Regions from separate parts of the Homo sapiens genome. Here regions 1, 2, 3, 4, 6 and 7 are each linked to region 5. The links are contacts of gene promoters, found by promoter capture Hi-C in blood cells and fetal thymus (Javierre and others, 2016). All regions are on one chromosome and are shown on one strand. The core of a region is centred on a gene start or on the middle of the fragment in contact, and the rest is flanking DNA. Distances in the headings are between cores, read along the strand shown.

What was found. The method cuts DNA at HindIII sites, captures the fragments that hold promoters and counts their contacts. A CHiCAGO score of 5 or more calls a contact.
Region 1: a fragment that was not itself captured here is called in contact with the fragment with the promoter of LINC02583 in region 5 in 1 of 17 cell types (endothelial precursors); the score reaches 6.6 in endothelial precursors.
Region 2: a contact is called between a fragment that was not itself captured here and the fragment with the promoter of LINC02583 in region 5, in 1 of 17 cell types (M1 macrophages). The highest score is 5.2, in M1 macrophages.
Region 3: a fragment that was not itself captured here is called in contact with the fragment with the promoter of LINC02583 in region 5 in 6 of 17 cell types (M0 macrophages, M1 macrophages, M2 macrophages and 3 more); the score reaches 8.9 in M0 macrophages.
Region 4: a contact is called between a fragment that was not itself captured here and the fragment with the promoter of LINC02583 in region 5, in 10 of 17 cell types (non-activated CD4 T cells, naive CD8 T cells, fetal thymus and 7 more). The highest score is 8.3, in non-activated CD4 T cells.
Region 6: a fragment that was not itself captured here is called in contact with the fragment with the promoter of LINC02583 in region 5 in 11 of 17 cell types (endothelial precursors, M2 macrophages, M1 macrophages and 8 more); the score reaches 9.6 in endothelial precursors.
Region 7: a fragment that was not itself captured here is called in contact with the fragment with the promoter of LINC02583 in region 5 in 8 of 17 cell types (M2 macrophages, M0 macrophages, M1 macrophages and 5 more); the score reaches 10.3 in M2 macrophages.

Annotation. Positions count from the first base shown.
Region 1 is chr2:45,976,122-45,979,191 of GRCh38, reverse strand. PRKCE (protein kinase C epsilon) reads right to left here. Exons shown (of 15, transcript NM_005400.3): 3 at 2,604-2,763; 4 at 182-216. Among named protein-coding and RNA genes, the nearest start is that of PRKCE-AS1, 300 kb to the right of the region's middle. The HindIII fragment of the contact is 3,462 bases long and covers 1-3,070 here.
Region 2 is chr2:46,143,822-46,147,163 of GRCh38, reverse strand. PRKCE (protein kinase C epsilon) reads right to left here. Exons shown (of 15, transcript NM_005400.3): 12 at 1,933-2,071. Among named protein-coding and RNA genes, the nearest start is that of EPAS1, 150 kb to the left of the region's middle. RefSeq lists an enhancer at 2,743-3,242. The HindIII fragment of the contact is 1,451 bases long and covers 740-2,190 here.
Region 3 is chr2:46,025,211-46,028,270 of GRCh38, reverse strand. All of the region lies in intron 10 of PRKCE (protein kinase C epsilon), which reads right to left. Among named protein-coding and RNA genes, the nearest start is that of EPAS1, 270 kb to the left of the region's middle. The HindIII fragment of the contact is 4,201 bases long and covers 1-3,060 here.
Region 4 is chr2:46,063,654-46,066,673 of GRCh38, reverse strand. All of the region lies in intron 10 of PRKCE (protein kinase C epsilon), which reads right to left. Among named protein-coding and RNA genes, the nearest start is that of EPAS1, 230 kb to the left of the region's middle. The HindIII fragment of the contact is 178 bases long and covers 1,562-1,739 here.
Region 5 is chr2:46,427,682-46,430,754 of GRCh38, reverse strand. LINC02583 (long intergenic non-protein coding RNA 2583) reads right to left here and starts at 1,565. Exons shown (of 4, transcript NR_103805.1): 1 at 1,476-1,565. The HindIII fragment of the contact is 1,565 bases long and covers 781-2,345 here.
Region 6 is chr2:45,998,342-46,001,390 of GRCh38, reverse strand. All of the region lies in intron 6 of PRKCE (protein kinase C epsilon), which reads right to left. Among named protein-coding and RNA genes, the nearest start is that of EPAS1, 300 kb to the left of the region's middle. The HindIII fragment of the contact is 288 bases long and covers 1,491-1,778 here.
Region 7 is chr2:46,046,829-46,050,005 of GRCh38, reverse strand. All of the region lies in intron 10 of PRKCE (protein kinase C epsilon), which reads right to left. Among named protein-coding and RNA genes, the nearest start is that of EPAS1, 250 kb to the left of the region's middle. The HindIII fragment of the contact is 1,579 bases long and covers 755-2,333 here.

The DNA of each region.
Region 1 (3,070 bases), core at 277-2,776, 450 kb after region 5:
CAAATGCCTCCCATATATATTCCCATATATGCAGAAGTAATGGTCAAGTGGGAACAAAGAAAGCATGCAAGCTGTGGAGAGCCTCCAAATGTCATCAGACTGAGCACCTGCCTCCTATGGGTGCCAGTGATCTGGATCTAACCACGGGCCTCTGAAGATTTAATTCATAAATGCCTCTTACCTTGACACTGGTATCCCTGCTTTCCTATGACACCCCTGAAAAGAAGAATAACATTTTTTTAAAAAAAGTGAAATCTTACCAGGTCAAAAAACAAACAGAAAAACCACCCAATTTGGGCCACCACCCACATAGCACCAAGTACATGAAGTATGCAGAATATTGTAATTTCTCTCTCACTTGCAAGGTGCCTTAAATGTCTCCTTCCAGAAGCCCACAGAGGGCAGTCCCAGTGCTTGGGGAGGTGCAAGGTTTGGTCAGCATCAGAGCTTGATTTCCTATACAGAGAGCCATTCCTGTGTGGTCAGCAATGTTCTGGAAAGCCACAAACGACCCTGCTTGCTCCTGGTAGGCATTGAGCAGTGAAGCATACCTTTCCTTGTGGATAGAATGGACATTCCTCTTCTCCCAGCACCAGGACACGCTCTGTGGGCCCTCTAACTGTGGAAGAGGGCTGCAGCTGGCAGGTATATTTCCCTGGGCAGTCCAAAGACCACCAATGGTTCTAAGCCAGTCTGTGCCCCGAACTAGAGGTTCAAGAGGTTGTCTAGGTGAAGGCCAACATTAGAGGTTCCTTCCATGGCCAGAGTGGTGTTCCCAGGGCAAGACAGAAAGTCAGCATGGACACAGAACTATCACACAAACCCGGCCTTACCCCTGTCCTTAGTGTACTAACTACAGATGGTCAGGGAGCTCCCTGAAGTTCCCAGCCCAGTGGGAACCAGAAGCTATTCAGGCTCCACCCCAGGGAACCTAGAGCTCAGTGGCCTTTGCCCATGGACTTAGAGGAGACCTGGATCTGTAAGACCGACCACTCAGTTCATGACCAAATGTAGCAAGTGAAGGTCAGACAGCTGGGTCTGCCCTGGTAATTGGAAGTATCTGTGGCTGGAATGGGGCATTATTTCTGCCTCAGTTGGGCTGGGCTTGCTCTGAGCTATATCATCTCAGATGTCTACGCCAACCTGGATGACTGGCTTTGTGACATCATGAGGATAAGACAAGTGACTACTGGACACCTGGAATCCAAGGGGTCCTCAGAGCCCAGTGCAGATGTCCCTGGCTGGGTTCATACTGCATCCTGGCCTCACTCGCTCTCCCCAGTTGGATCCAAGGGTTCATGAAGGCAACCTCTACATCAGCTTCAAAGAGCTCAGACAGCTTGCTAGAAAGGCTGGTGGGATGTCAGGAAAAGTATCAGCATTAAAAGTCAGACTACTAGGGGTAGAATCATACTTCTGACACTTCCTAGCTAGAGGACATCAGGCCAGTCTCATTTTCATTTCTGAGCCTGGGTATTGTTAGTGGAATGGGGCTGGCCTTCGATCATCTTTATCTCAGCCCCTCTCCTCCTTCCAGATTTTTTTTTTTTTTTAAGACAGAGTCTCACTCTGTCACACCCAGGTTGGAGTATAGTATAGCGATCTCGGCTCACTGCAGCCTCCACCTCCAGGGTTAAAGTGATTCTCATGTTTCAGCCTCCCAAGTAGCTGGGATTACAGGCGCACACCACCATGGCCAGCTAATTTTTGTATTTTTAGTAGACACAGGGTTTCACCATGTTGACCAGGCTGGTTTCAAACTCCTGACCTCAAGCAATCTGCGTGCCTCGGCCTCCCAAAGTGCTGGGATTATAGACATCAGCCACCGCACTTGTGCCTGGCCTCCTTCCTGATTTTCTAACAAATCCTAGGCATCAGATAATTTCACTTGTAAATAATTCAGTGAATTATTTTTCAGTGGATTATTATTCAGTGGAATCCTCACCCTGAGGTGTGTCTGTAAAAGATAAGTATTCTTTTTAAAAACACACAATCAGCTGGGTACAATGGCTCACATCTATAATCCCAGCACTTTGGGGGGCAGAGGTGGGTGGATCACTTGAGGCCAGGAGTTCTAGATCAGCCTGGCCAACATGGCGAAACCCTACCTCTACTAAAAATACAAAAATTAGCCAGGCGTGGTCGTGTGCTCCTGTAATCCCAGCTATGTGGGAGGCTGAGGCATGAGAATCACTTGAACCTGGGAGACAGAGGTTGCATTGAGTGGAGATCATGCCACTGCACTCCAGCCTGGGCAACAGAGCTAGACTCTGTCTCAAAACAAGACACACACACACACACACACACACACACACACACACACACACACACACAGTCACAATATCCTTGTTGGTTACTAAAATCTTAACTCTTTTCATAAAATTCTAGGTATAAAGTTGCCAGAAACCATCGCTTCTTTCCATGTATTTCCCCCTATGTACCAAACACACACTTAGCCTTCCATAATAGTCCCCTGCATTCAGATAAGGAAGAAACGAGGCACACCAGCATTCTTTAAATGAGGTGCATAGTCTCCCCTACCCCATCCCCGACATCTTGTAACAGAGATGTTGTAATTAGAGGTTCCCAAGAGAAAGGCTTACCAGATGAAGTCTCTGCAATGGGAGCAGTAGGTGGGCTGCCGAAGATAGGTGGCCATGAACTTGTGGCCGTTGACCTGATGGACCCTGCGCCTGACGGCCCCCTGCCGCTTCCTCGGCCGCATGCGTTCCCTGAACACACGCTCTTCATTGTCTTTAGGGGCTGGGGAAGGACAAGAGCAGGGAAGAAAACGGAGTCTGGGTTAGTGCACCTTCAAAATGAGCTCCCTCTGGAGAGCTACTCCATCCCTGGGGGAGTGGAGCTGGGGTGGGTGAGAGGTAGCCTTTGTGTGTGGAGGGACTCGGGGGTCTGAGGAGTCCCACTGAGCAGCTGGAGTGAGCGAGCACATGTAGGGTGGAAAGGCCCAGAGTGTGCCTATTCCTGCTATATCCTCAGATTCCATCCAATCCAAATTCTGCTCCAGGGCTGGCTGCCCTTTCCTCCCCACACAGGCTACAGCTGGTTTCAA
Region 2 (3,342 bases), core at 216-2,715, 280 kb after region 5:
GAAATCCCTACTCTTTAGATCTCTTAGAAGATAAAGGTTCTAAAGGGAAACTACCTATTACTCATCACCTTCACTTCGAGATGTTCCTCAGGCCTCCCCTGTCTTGTGTGGTCTGTGAAGCCTCCTGACCATCAGTCCCTCACTCCCTGCCTTCTGATCTGCACAGCTGTGGCCTTCCTTCTTCCTGGGATGGATCTGACTAGGACTCTCCTCCACTGAAACCCTGAGTGGGTCCACAGATCCTACAGGATCAAAGCCACATTCACTGGGTCTTTATCCCAATCTCATTCATTACTATGAGCACCAGGAAACCCTATGATCTAGCTACACTTTTTAACTGTCCTGGAAAAGACCAAGATGTTTTTGTCCCTTGGCCTTTGCTCATGTTGGAATGTCATAAGTTGTCATTTTTTAACAAACCTTTCTAAGATCCTGATTTGTGTGCCGGATCCTGGCAGTACCCAGATTAGAAACACAGACCCTGCCCTCAAAGGATCCAGGGCCCAGGGACACTGAACCTCCTTTCCTGTCCTGCCCCCGTTCCAATCCTGTTGTTTTCAGGAATACCCTCCCCACCCCTTCCGTCAAAGGAAATCCTCATTCTTTACAACTCAATTCATCCACCAGGTGCTCCAAGAAGCCTTTCCTGATCCCTGAGGATACCATCTTCTTTTATGTGCCTATTTATTCTGCTTAATTAGTTGTTTACTTATCTATCACTCCCTTTAGACCAAAAGCTTCTTTAGAATAGGGACAAGTGTCTCAGTCAGTTCTTTATCTCCACATTGCTTTGTGCCTAGCACGTGCTCAAACAATGCCCACTGAAAGAAATGAGCTCTGAATGTGCTAATACCTATCCGCCATGGGCGATGTTTAGTGGGGATTGGTACTTCTTTCCTATCTTACATGTCTCAGAACCATGAAGATCATTTTGATTGTCTATGACAGGCCATGTCTTAAATCTGAATCACATCACACTAGTTATCTCTCAGTTTGGGCAGGAATAAGGCAAACAAACACTTCATGCTGAGCAAAACATCCCAAACAACTTTCAGGAAAGGCAACCTATTGGAGTGGTTCACAGTGAACATCTCTGATATCTGTATATAATGAGGCACAGTCACTCTCCTCTTCCTGCTCCATCCTGTGTACTCACAGCATAGAACTGCCACTATGCAGGAAATAGCAAACAGTTCCTAGTTTTACTGTTAGCAAATTGTAGCTGATAAAGTGAAGTGCTCCCATGATCAATGATGCTCCTTTATTCTGATTTTATTTTTTACTTTTTTTTTTATTGAGACAGGGTCTTGCTCTGTCACCCAGGCTGGAGTGCAATGGTGCAATTATGGCTCACTATAGCCTCAACCTTCTGGGCTCAATTGATCCTTTCACCTCAGCCTCCCAAGTAGCTGGGACTACAGGTTTGCACCACTATGCCTGGCTAATTTTTGTATTTTTTATATAGACAGGGTTTCACCATGTTGCCCCGGCTGGTCTTGAACTCCTGGGCTCAAGCGATCTACCTGCCTTGGCCTCCCAAAGTGCTGGGATTACAGATGTGAGTCACTGTGCCCACCCTGTTCTGATTTTAAAGACATGAAAACAATAATAAAAGTCAACACGTTTTTCTTGGTCCTAGATTTATTGGTGGTTCTGGACTAGGATGGGAAAGAGATGTTCAGTGTGAACTTGCCCGGGTTTGGGAAATAGCCTGTTACTCTCATTTCACTCATCATCTCCCCAACACTAGGACTTCTTGACAGACATCAATCAGCAAACTTTTTTCCTTTCCTTTTCTCCCTCCTTCCTAGAATCCATCCTGGATTTCCAGAGCCTTCCCCCAGCACCACTAGATGACCCCAGTGCATGGGTTTGGACCCCTGCCTCGGTCCTGGCACCAGGAGGAGGTGAACCTTTGCACACAGGTCTTACCTCAGGAGCTATGTAGTCAGGAGTCCCACAGAACGTGGTGGTCGTCACACCATTCAGAATCCCTTCCTTGCACATCCCGAAGTCAGCCAGCTTGCAGTGACCTTCTGCATCCAGAAGGATGTTGTCCAGTTTCAAATCCCTGCAAGATAGGCCAGGACCATAATGTCAATACGTCACTCACCCCAATATAGTCTTCCTGAGTTGGAGGTATGTGCCTATCTTAGGGAAATCTCCAGCAAAAAAGTCCTGAAAGAAGCTTGTGTTTCTTGAAACCCATCTCAGTCCAGGGGCTCTCTCTCATGTTAGTCAGCCCCTAACGGCACCTCCACTTTCTTCAGCAAGAGGGAGGAACTTCTGTAACCCCAGGAATATATCAAGACTGCTGTGGTTTAATAGAGCTAAGTCAGTAGGTATATATAGAAGCCCTGCTATGCACCCACATTCATATTAATGAGATCCTGCTATGAAAGAAAGAAGCATCTACCCCTGTCCCTCATGAACTAACCATGGGGATCAGCTGGGGTTCCCAGCATGACACATAGGGACATCAACGAAACGGTTAAAACCACCTAAGAGTCAGGCACTACTTTATAGAACACTATGAGAGCTAATGTGCATCAGAGCGGGAGACCACAAACAGCTAGTGCAGGCAGTGAGGGCTTCCAGGAAACAGCGCCCCTCAAGAGAAACATGGTTAGAAGATAAGGGTTCGATACACTGTGAGGAGAGAAGATGGGAGAGAGGAGAAGGCCAATATAGCTGATGCAAAAGGTAGTGAGGAGGCCAGAGAATTGGGCCCTAGTGAATGGTGAAGCAAGACAGGAATGTTTTGCTCAAAGAGCCTGGAATGCTAGGAAAAAGAATTTGAAATGCATGCTAACAGCAATAAGCATCCTGCCTGCATGAGCACAATGCATTTGTAAGATCACTTTCCTAGGGGCAAGCAGGCTGGGTGGGGGAAAGGTCTGGAGGCAGCAAGGAAGGCACATTGCTTATAATCACCTGGACCCACAGAGCCCACGTGGTTCTGTGCAGCAAGCAAGAGCCATAGGGGCATGCCAGTCTCAAACAGTGCAGCTCCCTTGGGGCCTGTTTTACACTTTGGGGTTCTGGGTAAAAATTCCTTGCCACCATGCCTGGAACCCACAGCCCTGACACGGTAGAAGAACCCAGACTGGGTGGTGGTATCCACCTTGGGCTCCCCGCAACAGCCATGCTGGGATGCAGGGTGAAGGGTCTTGCAAAGAAGGCCCATTTGTCTGCACACAGAAAGCAGGAGGGGTCTGCTGGCGTCAAGATGTGAACTCCGGCCATCGCCAGGGATCCAGGCCTGAGTGCAAAGGTGGGGCAGGAAGCACTTTAGGACCAGCCTGCATTGTAGCCACGACCCCGTTTCCACTTACAGCTGGG
Region 3 (3,060 bases), core at 350-2,849, 400 kb after region 5:
TAGGTTACTCTTTAAGAATCCCAACCTTCGGCCGGACGCGGTGGCTCACGCCTGTAATTCCAGCACTTTGGGAGGCTGAGACGGGCGGATCACTTGAGGTCAAGAGTTTGAGACCGGCCTGGCCAGCATGGCAAAACCCCGTCTCTACTAAAAACACAAAAGTCAGCCGGGTGCAGTGGTGGGAGCCTGTAATCCCAGCTACTCGGGAGGCTGAGGCAGGAGAATCACGTGAACCCGGGAGGCGGAGGCTGCAGTGAGCTAAGATCTTGCCACTGCACTCCAGTCTGGGCCACAGAGCCCGACTCCATCTCAAAAAAAAAAAAGAAAAAAAAGAATCCCAACCTTCAAGAGGGAGGTCCCCCAGGGTAGGTGGAAGGTGGGCCAGCAGTTCTGTAGATAACCCCCTGGTCTTGAGCCCCATCTTGGCCTTGGTCTTGGAAAGAGGATAGGGACTACGCTTCATTCTTCCAGCTAAATAGGCCATGGGACCAGTCACCACACTTCTTGTCCTTGAGACAGATCATACTGCCAAAAGAACAGGAAAATCGAAACTTTAGTGGCAAAAGAATGATACACAGAGGTAGTGCACAAGCTCAGTTTTTTGTTAAAGTTCGAATTTTTGGAGAGCATGTCATCATTTAAAATGCTAGTGCCTATGACAGTTTGGATGCTTTCATGTTCTTGTTCCCCTTCCCTGCCTTATTGTAAAATATACCTACGAATGAGAATATGTAAAATATGCATATGCATTTTAAAGATCAAATAAGACTCACTTTTAGCTGTGACCCACCTTGACAGATAGAACATGGTTGCTGGCCTTTGAAACCCCTTTAACTCTCTTTAATTGCAACCTCTCTCCCCATCCTCATTCAGTCCCTATTTGGACTTCCCTGGTAATCATGATCTTGTTTTTCTTTTCTTTTTCTTTCTTTTTTGAGATAGGGTCTCACTCTGATGCCCAGGATGAAGTACAAGTGGTACAATCATGCTTCACTGCAGCCTCAACCTCCTGGGCTCAACCTACCCTCCTACCTCAGCCTCCCGAATAGCTGGGACTACAGGTGTGTGCCACCATCCCTGGCTAATTCTTTTATTTATTTTTGAGACAGGGTCTTGCTCTGTTGCTCAGGCTGGAGTACAGTGGCATGATTATGGCTCACTGCAGCCTTGACTTCCTAGGCTCAAGCGATCCTCCCACCTTAGCCTCCAGAGTAGCTGGGACAACAGGCACACATCACCGTGCCAGGCTAATTTAAAACAATTTTTTGTAGAGACAGGGTCTCACTATGTTCCCAGGGCTCAAGCAATCCTCCTGCCTTGGCCTCCCAATGTTGGGACTACAGACATGAACCACCACACCCGGCCCCTTGCTTTTCTTTACAGTTTCATCACCCATGTGTTTCCTCCTAAGAATATTGTTTAGTCTCGCCTGTTTGGGGGTTTTATAGAAATGGAAATATGCTACATGTCTATTCTGGGACTTGCTTCTTTCCTTCTGTAGTCAGCTGTGTATCTTTTAAAATTACCAGCTCTTATGCCTCAGATCTCTGTGTTTAAGGGGTCTCATTTACTCTCTTATAAATCCCCTTCAAAAACATCCCTTAAACATCCCAAAAACATCCCTAAAATGTCATGACACAGCAAATCGACCAATTCATTCTGTTCTCTTGGATACAGGTTGTCAACCACATTTAGGAAAGCTGTGGCCAGTTCCTCACCTTTTCAACCTAAATATTTTCTTACATCAGAGTGACACTTTTGGTAGAATTAAAGATCAGAGAAATGCATTCAAACCTTCTGCATGATACCATCTTCCAAAAAGGTAACATTTCCACCACTACATTCTTAATGTTTCTGCATAGTCTTCTACGCTTCTTTCTGATTTTGTCTAACTGCCCATACTCCCGATTCTTGTCCTCCTCTACCCATGAAGTCTAAATGTCCCATTCTAGAGAATTGAGATTTTAGGTTTCACATCTTTACCTTAATCTTTGAACCATCCACATAGCTTTTATACCCTCTAACTTCGTATACTCTCCCCATGAATGCCTATGTGCTTAGACTGCGCTTTTTACTCCCATGATCCTGCAGACTGTTAGTACCATTTCCTACCAAGGAGAAAGGGGTATTTGAATATCTGCATTTCATGCTCAATAGTGTCTTCAAGATTTGAAAATTAACAATTAGCTCAAAGAGCTAAACAGAATCCCTCCTTCCTGGGATATGGATGCACAAGAATCATATCTATTGATCATTTTCAGCTTTTGGAAGGCCCCAGTTTGCTTCTGCCTATGGCGTCTACCAGGTACTGACTTCCAGTGTTTACCTAGTACCCAGGACACAGGCTCACTCTGGTTCCCATAGTGATGGGTCAGTTTGCCCTCCCAGAGATTAATGTGGTTTAAAGCAGCAGAGATCAACACTGGCCAGGGAGCTAAATGGATCTGAACTACACAAACATCCAGATCTGCCTTGGACAGGGCTTGCTCCTTTTCACACAATAACAACCCTACAAAGCCAATTTCCTTGAATCAGATGGGACCTTGCCACTGTGCTCCTGTGGGGTAGGTGGAACCCAGGGTTCTTATTCCTGTGACAAAGTCCCTTATGAGACAGCGAGAGAGTGACAGAGGGAGAGAGTGAGAGCAAGGGAGAGAGAGGGAGCACATGAGCGTGTATGTGACCCGGAAGGGGCACTTCAACGCTTGTGCCTCAGTTTCCTCCAATTTGTAGGAGTATACCTACTAGTCAGCCCACTCATCTCTTCCTCTGATTTTCATTCTCTGGTTCACCTATTAGCCTAACCTCCCTAGGTGGACCAGCAGTTCTTTGAACAAGGATTGTGTCTTTTTCTATCCCTGGAATACCTGATATTAAGTTGAAGACATACCGTACCAGGTACTAAAAAAAATACTGGTTGTCTAATGTATACTGAAGCAGAACACTTCGTCCCTGGCTGGGGGTGTGTGTTCCAGATGTCTTACGTTCCCTGGTACTGCTCCTGCACAGCTGTTTTTTAACACTTCAGGGTTCAGTTACTCTGCCTAGCACTGCTGCACC
Region 4 (3,020 bases), core at 401-2,900, 360 kb after region 5:
AGCACAGCGAGAAACTTCTGTCCTGCTCTGATCATCTAAATGGAAAATTTACGAGATATACAGACAAATCAGTTCACAGACTATGCCCCAAGCACTAGAAATAACTTATTTCTACAATGTATTTGTACAAAATGTTCTGGATAATATAAAGTTGTTAAATGAATATAAGTCTAGGATTCCTAATTGGAGTGGATCGTTCCCTGCCCTCTTCCCCTGGAGATGGGAAAATCAAAAAGCAACAGACAGCCTTAGCCAATTCAACCTCTACCTATCTATTTTCATTCATAAATTCGGAGGGAAAGAAAGGAAGGAAAGAAAGTGAGGTCTCAAAAAAATGAAGTGAGGTAGGTGACTCATTACTTCAACATTTTCTTGGGGGTAACTTTAGCCAAGCCAGTGCTCAAGTAGGTGTATAGGCAGAAATAGGGGGAAAAACAGATACATCAAAACAAAGGAAGTTTATAAATGCTTCCCCTTCACCTGATATTGTACAGGGCCATCTCACCACGCTACAGCCCCTGCAACCCCTCACCACTTCTGTGTCTTTCCTCTAGGTCACAGCCTGCTGCTCCACACTCTGTCATGGGAGATGCCAAGGTTAAAATGACAGTTGGACTGTCAGCATCCAGCTTTTTGGAACGTCTGTTAAATAGTCTTGACGGATGCTGGATCTTTGCAAATGGGTGGTCGGGGACCAATACAGTCTCAGAAGAGGTATTTAAGACAAATTAAACAGCAGTGTTCCCCTGGCCCCATGGGCAAGAGGCAAGAGTGGGTTAGCTTCCCAAGAGACCGTGCCATCAGCTAAAGCATGAATCAACTGATCCATTCTATTTTTTAAACGTTTGCAAACACTTTCCTGGGATCAGTACCATGGCTCAAAGCACCTGTGATCATTTATGGCTTGGAAATATAATAAAGATATTTTAGGATAATTTTTTAATTGGAAAATATTTAAATTCCTTTTTGCCATATGTTTCTGACCTCCAGTGACCTCAGATCTTGATTAGGAAGATAAAGCAAAGACCAACCAGAAGTATGTAATTTTAGAACAGGAAAGTCGATCTGAAAAGTAATTTCTCTAAATTTAGTTACAGTAGCTCTTATCTGAACTGTGGTCCTTACACACCAATAACTTTTGGCTATTCAGATGAGAAGAACAACAAATTTTTTACCAAAATTGTTGTGTTCTTTTTCTGACTCAAGCTTAACCGGACAAATGAGAAGATGGAAGGGCTACTGGTGGAGTCAGAGAAATTCTTTACGTGAAATGACGTCTGCTTTTACTTGTTGGGAAACAGATTATTTTAAGAGAATATTAGAAACTATGACAAACCCCAAAACTGTTTCCCGTCAGAATTCTTGGAGGAATTGCTTAGTTTACCCACAGACACACTCCCTGGCCCCTGAATACTAGATAAACAGCATTCTTTCAAGATACAGGTCTTGAACAGTCATTTTCCCCTTTTCTCTTAATAGCAGGCTTTTAGGTTTAAACTATCCAGAAATTACATTACCACCCATGTCTCCTCCTCCTTTACCTGTTTGCAGAAAAGAAGCTTGGTAAATTATTATCGTATAATCTGTGATGCCAGCGCTGAAGTGTGGAATAATTTAAATATTTTGAAGGGTCGAGGATGTACAGGGTCAAATAACTTAAGAGCATGGCTTCTCAAGCTAGAACATGAAAAATTTCTCTTCTTCTAGTTGAAAATGGGGAGCCACATCTACAGAAAGCTTGGGCTTGGTGTTGGCAACAATGGGGCCTCCCCTTTCCCACTGCCCCAGTCCTTTTCTCCCCACACCCACATGAAAGGACGATACATTCCACAGGCCATGGATGAGCATCAAGTAGCAAAATTCTATAAGACTAAGAATCCCCCAGAAAGAGCCCAAGAGAATTACCAAAAAAACTTCTGTAATTTTGCCTCCAGTCCTAGTTTATTATATGTTACCAGTTTTAGGCCAATGAGGCATTTTCCAACTTCCCTAGTTCGTACTGTCACCAAAATCAGAGTCTAACTATGCTTAGAAAATGCTTCTTTGTATCTCCCTAATTCTTCTTCTATCTAATCTACAAAGGAGATAATATTCAGTCAGACTCTGCTTCTGGTGCAAGCTGCTGATGAAAATCTAAATCCCTCATGCTATGATTTAAGCAGTTATTGCCAAGACTGTCCTTTCTATTACCATCTAATATCATTTATTAAAGAAACCATTAGTGCAAGGAAATCTGATTAATTTGGGATTGCCAATTACTGAGAAGTGAATCATTAACAAATTCATATGAACTTCATTTGCAAATAGAGAACTTTTGAGTGTCGAAGGAGAACGACTATATTTTTAAGGGCAGTTAACAATTTTCTTTTTCTTTTTTTTTTTTTTTTTTTTTTGAGACAGAGTCTCACTCTGTCACCCAGGTGGAATGCAGTGGTATGATCTTGGCTCACTTCAACCTCCACCTCCCAGGTTCAAGCGATTCTCCTGCCTCAGCCTCCTGAGTAGCTGGGATTACAGGCACGTGTCACCATGCCTGGCTAATTTTTGTATTTTTAGTAGATACAGGGTTTCACCATGTTGGCCAGGCTGGTCTTGAACTCCTGACCTCAAGTGATCCGCCCACCTCGGCCTCCCAAAGTGCTGGGATTACAGGTGTGAGCCACTGTGCCCGACCAGTTAACCATTTTCATAGACAGTAAAATACTGTTAGCAAATGAAAGATGTGAGGCCTAACACCTGATGATAGTCAACAACTCTTCGGGCTCAGAGAGGACTGGAATTCTGTGAAGTCATTAGAAATGAATACTCCACCCTTCTCTCAGGTTATTGAATAATCTGTATCTTAAATGACTTTGATAGGAAAATGCTACTCCAATTTAGCCAGAAGAGGAGTCGCTGGTAAGGAGTTGCTGGTAAGGATTTTTACCCCAGAAGGAAGTGGCGATTGGTCTAGCAAAACACTGTAAATCTTTTCCTGCCCCTTGCAAGATGGTCACAGTTGCGGAATTCTCTGCCCTGGG
Region 5 (3,073 bases), core at 316-2,815:
TCATATCTATACCATTAAAATATTAGCAAGAAGGTATGTTTCCTTCAAATTACTTACTGTATTCCTATAGTACAGCCAAAAGAGTTGCACATATATCAATGACTAGTATCAAAATGTAAACATAGACACATTTGCATACATCTCTCCCTTTATACTTCATTCTGCCCTTCTGCTGCCAACCTAATGAACAAGTCCTGACATACACTGCTCAGACGTGGCTTAACAATTCCATGTTCAAGATGCATCTTTTCTATCAGTTATAACAAAAAATATTAATAAATTGCCTAATTCACTAGCTCTACTTTTTATCATACATTGTCACTCCAGGACTTTCATAAAGCTCAGATGTTGCAAAATAATAAAACTTGTCCACAACAAACACAGGCACTTTACTGAAAATGCTCATATAGAGCTATGGGTATGAGTTTAAACCATCTTCTAGATATGGAGATACTAGCAAAGAGCCCTTTCCTTCATCCTTCCTCTTCTCCCTCTCCCACCATCCCAACGACTAAGGATACTACTGTGTTTAGCTCCAAGGGGTGGATTACCAAACTCAATCCCAGAAGACAGGACTTCCTATAAACAAACAAAAGGACATTTATGAAGGGATTGTTTTACGTTAGTCAACTCTATGTACAGTGGTGAGCATTAATAAAATGTACACAAAACAAAGGTTAGATTAGAACATGAAAATCTCTTCAGATATGACCAGACTGGCCTAGAACTTCCTTCTCAGGTTTTCTATGTCCTTTAACTCACTGAACAAACGTGGAAGCTTCGCTTCCAGAGGTGGTCTAACCACTTCAAAGTCACCTCCAGAAGACATTTATTTTTTATAATTTTTTTTTTGAGACGGATTCTTGCTCTGTCACCCAGGCTGGAGTGCAATGGTGCAATCTCCGCTCACTTGCACCCTCTACCTCTGTCTCCTGGGTTCAAGCGATTCTCCTGCCTCAGCCTCCCGAGTAGGTGGGATTACAGATGCCCGCTACCACTCCCGGCTAATTTTTGTATTTTTAGTAGAGACGGGGTTTCACCACGTTGGTCAGGCTGGTTTCGATCTGACCTCGTGATCCGCCCGCCTCGCCCTCCCAAAGTGCTGGGATTACAGGCATGAGCCACCGCGCCCGGCCTATGATTTCTTTTTAAACAAATGAGAATTTACAAGATGTGTGATTTTCTAACTCTGTCATACGTCGGCAACCTCTTCTCATCTAGAAAGCCTAGATGTGGAAAATGTTTTCTTTTAAAAGGTTGGAGGGAAGTTGAGAGCAACTTTTTCATGTTATATACACACAGGTTTTCTATAAACGGCCAGTAAACCTTCCCAAAGGGTGGTGGGCATGTCCAGCGGGCCAACTGTGGCCTGTCATCCTACCATTTCTCTTGCGACATAGAGGTCTGGTAGAACTAACACCAACCCGCGATGGCCACTGATCCTTCTGCTCACCCTCCTCCAGGACTTTGCTCACCTTCTGTGCCGTTAAGGCCTTTGTTGGTTGTCCTCAGGACTCAGTAGGTCTCCTTCAACTGTGACTGAGCAGTCTCTGCAGGCCTAGGCTTTACGTTGCTCTGTGGCCTAAAGAGGCCTCCGTAGACCCGCCCTGCCACACCCTAGGGGCCTCCCTGCCGCCGCCATGCTTCCGGCCGGCCACGGCAGCTGCCACTCAAAGGCTCTGCATCCGGGTGGCTTGGCAGGGGTGTCCTCTGGAGATCCAGCGGTCGGCGGGGTCGGCTGGGAGAGGCTGCCGCCACCATCAGGTCACCGAGGTGGGTTGAGGAATATGGTCGATGCTCCTTCAAGGCCTGGGTGTGGCCGGTGGGAGCCATAGCAAGGGCTCTGGGATATCTGCAGGGCGGAGGCCCCAGTCTGTCCTGGGGCTCCCCCAACTCACCCGTTGGCCCAGGGTTTGGAGGGCCCCAGGGGAGCTAGCCGCGGAGCTCAGAGTCTCACCGTGATCTCTGTCGGAACTCTGGAAGGCTTTTAAGAAATACCGATATCTGGACTTCCTACAGACTAATTAAACCAGGCATGTTGGTTTGTCCAGACTTTGTTAGCTCTTTGAGCCATTTTAGCATCCAGGGGTTCTTGAGGGTATGTGCCAAGACTGGTATTAAAATCCTTACTTTGTCAGGCTGAGTGGATTTCTGTTGTAGGTCTATGAAAAACCAGGAAATAAACCCATGCATTCATTAATGTACACATTCATTCGTTCCTTTGTATAGGAAATTCTCATTTATGTTCTTGAGTAAGATTGGTCTGTAATTTTACTTCCTTAAAATATACTAGTCAGGTTTTGATATCAAGATAATACCAGTCTTATAAAATCAGTTTTGAAGCTTGCCGTCTCTTTTGGTTTTATGGAAAGTTTATGTAAGACTGACAAAATACCTTAATTAAACCTAAGTTTATGGAAGACTGACAAAATATCTTCATGAAATCTTGGGTAAAGTTTACTTATAAGCATCTGGGCCAAGAATTTCTTTGTGGGAAGGTTTATATATTAAATTTTTTAAAATTATAATACTGTTTAGATTTGCTATTTCTTTTGGCAGTTTTGGTGAATTTTATTTTTCAAGAAATTTGTCTATTTCATCCAAATTTTAAAATTTATTTGTTTTAAGTTATTCGGAATATCTCTTATGAGATATAATTATGACATATCATGAGATATCAATGTCTGTTGGGTCTATAGTGATGCCCCTGTTTTTATTCATAATATGGATATTTGAGCTTTCTTTTTTATTTGAACACTCTCATCAAGATTTATCAATTTTATTAGTCTTTTTAAACAACTGTCTTTTGACTGTATTTATCTTCTCTAGTATAAAGGCTTGCCCTAAAATATGTGGAGTCTAGGGCAAGAGTATTGATGGAGTACATATATATCATACTATATATAAAAAAATATATATTCAGCCAGGTGCGGTGGCTTATGCCTGTAATCCCAGCACTTTGGGAGGCCGAGGCGGGTGGATCACGAGGTCAGGAGATCGAGACCATCCTGGCTAACACGGTGAAACCCTGTCTCTACTAAAAATACCAAAAAAAAAAAAAATTAGCTGGGTG
Region 6 (3,049 bases), core at 385-2,884, 430 kb after region 5:
TGGAGAAAAGACAGATAAGTGTTCATGGCCTAAGATGTTGCTTCTTTTCTTTGAGATTGTATTATATGTTCATGAAGTATTACATGTTCATTTAAGATATAATTTGGAAAATACAGAAATATATATATATATATATATGTCTTCCATCATACAAAACCAAAATCATTCATTAAACCACCTTGCAGAGATAACCACTGTTTCTAGTACTTCATTCCAGCCATCCTTTCTACGTATACCCTAAATATAGATAAGTAAGTAAATGTCACATTTATATTTCCCTCCAGGGACTGGGAATCTTTCAGATCTCCAGTCTGAATTCAATGAATTCCTTTGCTTTTCCCTCTTCACTTAGTTGTCCTTGGTGTAAGACATCACAGGTGAAAACAACCTGCTCATTGAAGTCTGGCACCTAAGGGGCTTAGAAGTCAGCAGCACTCCATTCTAACAAGCAAAACGCTGAACAAACTACAAAATCAACAGCTCTTCCGAGATCCACCAAGTGAAGTGAAGTCCTAGGGCAAACTGAAACTGCTGCTCCCAGAATTAGACAGCCAACCAGGCGAATACAGAGAATCGCAACTTACTGAAGCAGAAACCTCTGTAGGAACAATGCTGGGGTAGAAAAACTGTAACTGTAACCAACAAATGGGCTCAGAGCAGACAAGCCTGAGAGTCAAAAACTCTAAGGGGGACCCAGTCGTTGAGTTGATAGACTTTTGTACATTCAGTTGAGAGTCGTGCTCTTCAGGAGCTCAACTAGATTCTCATAGTAAATATGGAGAAAATCTCAGGATTTCAGTGTGGGGGTTGGGGGTGGGGAACGTGGGGAGAGAACCATTTTTTAAAATAGCCCAGAGCACTCTGCTCTTCTTAACGAGGGCTTCTCTTAGGAGAAACTATTTTATCAGAGGTTGAGGGTTGTTTTTTTTTTTTATCAGAGATTGAGGTTTTATCAGACCCCGACTGATCTGGGGACAAGGAAATCCCCAACTCCAGCCCACTCTAGCCATCCTGTCCTATCTAAGGCCAGGGGAGGACTGAACAGCACTTGTGAGGTTCACAGCTCAAAGGCACAAATTCATGAAAACACCCTAATCACAGCTCTATGTAATTCTTTCCCTCCCTCCACACGTTACTCACATTACTAACAGCCTGTTTACTGACAGTTCCTTTTACCCGGTATATAATGTCTGGCAAGAAAAAACTGTAAGGCATCCTAAAAGGCAAAGAAAAAAAAAAACAAAAAAACCCCAAAAAACCAGTTTGAAGTGACAAGGCAAACATCAGAACTAGACTCAGATATAGCAGGGATGCTGGAATTATCTGACTGGGAATTTAAAACAACTATGATTAATATGCTAAGGGTTCTAATGGATAATGTACACAGCATGTAAGAACAAATGGGCAGTATAAGCAGAGAGATGGAAATGCTAAGAAAGAATCAGAAGAACTGCTAGAGATCAAAAACACTAACAGAAATGAAGAAAGCTTCTGATGGGCTTATTAGTAGTCTAGACATGGCTGAAGAAACAATCTCTGAGCTTCAGGATATATCCATAGCAGCTTCAAAAATGAAAAAATAAAGAGAACAAAGACTGGAAAAAATATCCAAGGATTGGGTGATAACTACAAAAAGTGTAACATATGCAAAAAGAGACTACCACTACGAGAAGAAAGAGAAAGGAACAGAAAAAAATATTAATATTTGATACAATGAGGACAGAGAATTTCCCAAAATTAATGTCAGACACCAAACCAAACCACAGCTCCAGGAAGCTTGAAGAACACCACACAGGATAAATGCCAAAAAGAAACAAACAAACAAACCAACAAAAAACTATACCAAGGCATATAATTTCTAAACTACAGAAAATCAACTATTTAAAAAACGCTGAAAGAAGTCAAAGGAAAAAAAAAAGTTTTACCTATAAAGGAGGAAAAATAAGAATTACATCCAACCTCTCCTCAGAAACCATGCCATCAAGAAGTTAAATATTCAAAATGTTGAGATAAAAACCCCACCACCCTAGAATTCTCTACCCTGCAATATTATCCTTCAAAAGTGAAGGAGAAATTAAAACTTCCTCAGACAAACAAAAATGGAAGGAATTTATGGGCAGTGATCTGCCTTGTAAGAAATGTTAAAAGTAGTTCTTCAGAGAGAAGACAAATGATACAGCTCAGAAACTTGGATCTACATGAAAAAGAGAGCAGGTAAAGAAAGGTGAAGAAATAAGTGGAGGTAAAATAAAAACTTTTATTTTTATTCTTAATTAATTTAACAGCTAATGGTTTGCCCAAAATCATAATATTAGTAATGTGCTGATTATGTGTAATTATAGTATTTCATATATGCTAGGTATGCTTATGTGTAAGTGAAATAAATGATAGTAATGAGACAAGGATGGCAGGGAGGAATTAGGATAATTTTGTTATTATAAGGTACTTGTACTGTCATGAAGCAGCACAATATTATTTGAAAGTAGATTTGGATTTGTTGTAAATGCATACTGCAAACTCCACAGCAAGCACTAAAATAAGTAAAAAAGAAAGTATAAATGATACGCTAAGAAAGGAGAGAAACAATACGAACATATTAAATGCTCAATTAAAACCACAAAAGGCAGAAAATGAGTGGAAGACAAACATAGAAACAAAGAATAAGGGCAACAAATAGAAAACAGTACTAACTATAGTAGATATTAACCCAAGTATGTCAATAATCAATAATCATTGACTTCAAATGTCAATAGTCTAAATATACCAATTAAAAGACAGATTGTTAGAGTGGATCAAAAAAAACAAGACCCAACTAACTATATGTTGTTCACAAGAAACCCACCTTAAAGACACATACAGATTAAAAGTAAAGACATAGAGTAAGATATACCATGCTAACACTAAACCCAAAAAAGCAGAAAAGCTAAATTAATTTCAGACCCAGCAGACTTCAGAGCAAGGAAAGTTATTAGGGATAAAAAGGTCAATTCTCAAAAAAGACGTAATTTTTAACGTGTATGTACCTAAAACCAGAGCATCAAAGTAAGTG
Region 7 (3,177 bases), core at 295-2,794, 380 kb after region 5:
GTGGGCCCAGCTTTTACCCCCAGCCTTCTACACTGGCCATGGTGACCATGCTGGGGGTACCTCTCAGAGGACTCACCAGGACCAGTACTGTGTTGGATTTGATGGACAGAAGGACCTGCCTCGGGTTTGCCTCAGGGTCTTAGTCAAGATGGGAAAATGTAAATTACATGAAATCAACTGCAGAACACAAAATGGTGTATCAGAAAGAGCTAAACTGATGTGTAACACAAGGAACTGGGCAGAAGGAAACGCATGATGGGAAACTGAGGCAGGCTTTCTAGAAGAGGTGGGATTTACGAGAATGCAGAGTGGAAAGCAGAGGGAAGCCCCTCTGGTGACCTTCATGAATTCAAGTGAGAATATTTTCCCACAGCTACAAGGATACTAGAAGGTATTTCCTGCAGCGGGTATTACACCTGCAGCTGCTTCCCCCTTGACCAGAGTCTGCTTAGGAACAATCAGGCAGAAACTACCTTGGCTGCCCAAGGGCTGGACTCCAGTCTAGGCTCACAGTTAATTGCAAGATGTGCGTGTAAAGGGCTTTGCACCAACTGGGATAGGTTGTCCCATCTCCTGTTGCCCTATCTCAGGCCACTTTAAGTCAATAGAAGCTTAAAGTATCTGTGGGCATGAGAGAGAGCTGGGCTATGTGCATTGTCAGGACTGGGAAGAAACCAGGGCAGCACTAATCCAGTGAGGTGGGGGCTTCTATCAGGCTGTAAGCCCACTCGGCAATACTGACAGGTGGGAAGCTTCTAAGCAGAAACCCTGAGGTCCCTGGAAACCATCAAATAGGATGAGGGTTGCGCTAAGGAAACGTCTAGGAAAAATGGGCCCGGACAATCTTGCCCCAAGCTCAGTCAAGAAGGGGAAAGACAGACCTTGTATCTCCTTCCTGCCTTTCAATTCTGACTATGAAGGTAAGAGACATCACGGGACTCCAAGGAAGGCCCTGGGACTCTAGACTACAGAGAAGAGCCTAACTAAATTGCTTATAAAAGTTTTTTGGAGTTCCTCCTGTGTAGGTCAGATGGAGGCATTACTGGCGAGTCTCTACACTCCAGGCCAACTATTACAACACATGACTGGTGCCCCATACAGAGCTATAGGAAAGTGCAGAGTGCATTCTGTCTGGGAAGGAGAAAGGAGGAGGGCAAGAGTCACACTGAGTTGAGTCCTGCAAGAGGAACAATATTTCCAGAGCTGGTGAAGGTTCTGAGCTCAATGACCTGGTGTCCTTTTGCATTTAAAGGCCAATGTATTTCCTACCCTAAGGAAAAGTTCACCTGTCAGACACTGGTTCACCCCTAAACAGAGAGAGAACTGGCCAGAACCCATAAGCAGAGTAGATCACTTCCAGCTATCATCCGTCTCCCCCTGGAGAAAGGCCAAGTGCGTGGACAAAGGGGAATCAAGGACCACTGGACAGACCCCGACACTGGGCACGTCCACCCCTCGGTGACAAGACCCGAGCACCTTGCTTAGAAAGTCATCTGCTCGGTAGGAGGCACTGGCAGAGGGGCTCTGGTGGGACATTGAGCCCAGTGAACCCCATATGGATCCCTGTTGGCTGTAAAGAATCTCTGGACATGGGAAATTGATGGGGGCTGGAATACAAAAGAACATGAAGATAGGACATTTCCATTTTGTTAATACCCTTGAGACTTTTCAATAGGCTGTAGCTGAAGCCTCAGGACAGTTCTGAGAATGAAGCTGGGAGGGAGTACTGTCTCCATGTCACAGATAAGGAAAATAAGGCTCAAAGAGATCATGTACCTGCCCTAAGGTCCTATGGCTAGTCAGAGAAAGAACAGAAAACAGAACTTAGTTCTCCTTTTCCCCTAAGTGCCCATAAGCAAGTCACTAAACCTTACTATGGAAGGGGCAGGGGGTGGGAGGGGTGGCAGGCAGGCTCATTTGTGGAGTCCTTGACACGCTGTTTAGAAGTAGGTGAGTTAAATTAAAATACACTGGTTTGATAACTATTGATGATAATTAATATGTGAGTTAGTCTTCCAATTTTCAAAGTACTTTTTACATTTAATGAGCTACCCAGCTGGTCCTTCTAAAGCCAAGGGAGAATTGCATTTTAAAACCAAATTCAATTTTCCAGGATTTTCTGGTACTTGACAGAAAACTTCCTGTATGCAAGTCAAAGGTTAGTAAGCAGTGGAAATGCTTTGATGGTATTTATTTTAAGCCAAGATATCCTCCCTATTGAAAAAATCTTTTTTCCAAGTATTCACTTTTGAGTTATGTAGCATTCTTACTAAAAAATAAATGAGTTAAGTAAATAAGGGGAGGGGAAATGGGAACCACTTTGATTTGAAGCTTTCAACAAATGACATTGTCCAGAGTGTGTCCTGATCAAATTCAGTGTTTTGAAATGCAGCTTTTCAAACATTCAATACCTAACATGTAACTAATAGGTTTGAGTTTTACCGTGATCTCCAACTCCTCAAGTTACACAGGATGTGCCAAGTAAAGGCCTCCTTCCACTGACCACACAGCACTGCGAGCTCACAGCCTGCTGGGAGGGCAGAGGGTACAATCACCTCCCAGAACAATGTCTTCCACGATGTGTTTTTTCTGTCTCTTGTTCCAGCCACCTGTCTTCATTGCTGTATAAAAGAAGACTTTCATCACCAGGCATCAGTTGTGTTTATCAGCCCTTAACGGGATCTTGTCCATTCAAGTTCCTCGGGTTCCCTTGGCCAACTGGAGATGAGATTTCCTGTACTCTTTTTCTAATGAGTTTAGCAAGGAGGTATCAGACAAGGAGGGCAGTTCAATGAAAGCCTTTGACTCACCTGGCCCAGCCTGCTCTTAATCCTGTGCCTCAAAACTTCTCTAAGTAGGGATAAAAATGGCCAGGAAGGCTGGGTCTCCAGGAACAAGATGCCATTGGATTCCTGCCTCAATCATTTCTCGAATATCAGATACACCTCTCCTGACCTAAAAAGAATTCACTTCAGGAGAAGGGACAGAGAGCAGGCTGATCATGGCCTTCCCCACTAAGTTGAGGAAAGCCCAGTGTCCTCCTGTGCATGATGAGATTTTAAGAGCTGCCTGTGAACTGGTAGATGAAAGTGGAAATAGGGCTGTCCTACCAATGATCACTCAATGACTACACTGGAAATAAACAGAGAATGTGAAGTCCGTCTTGAATCCCATCCA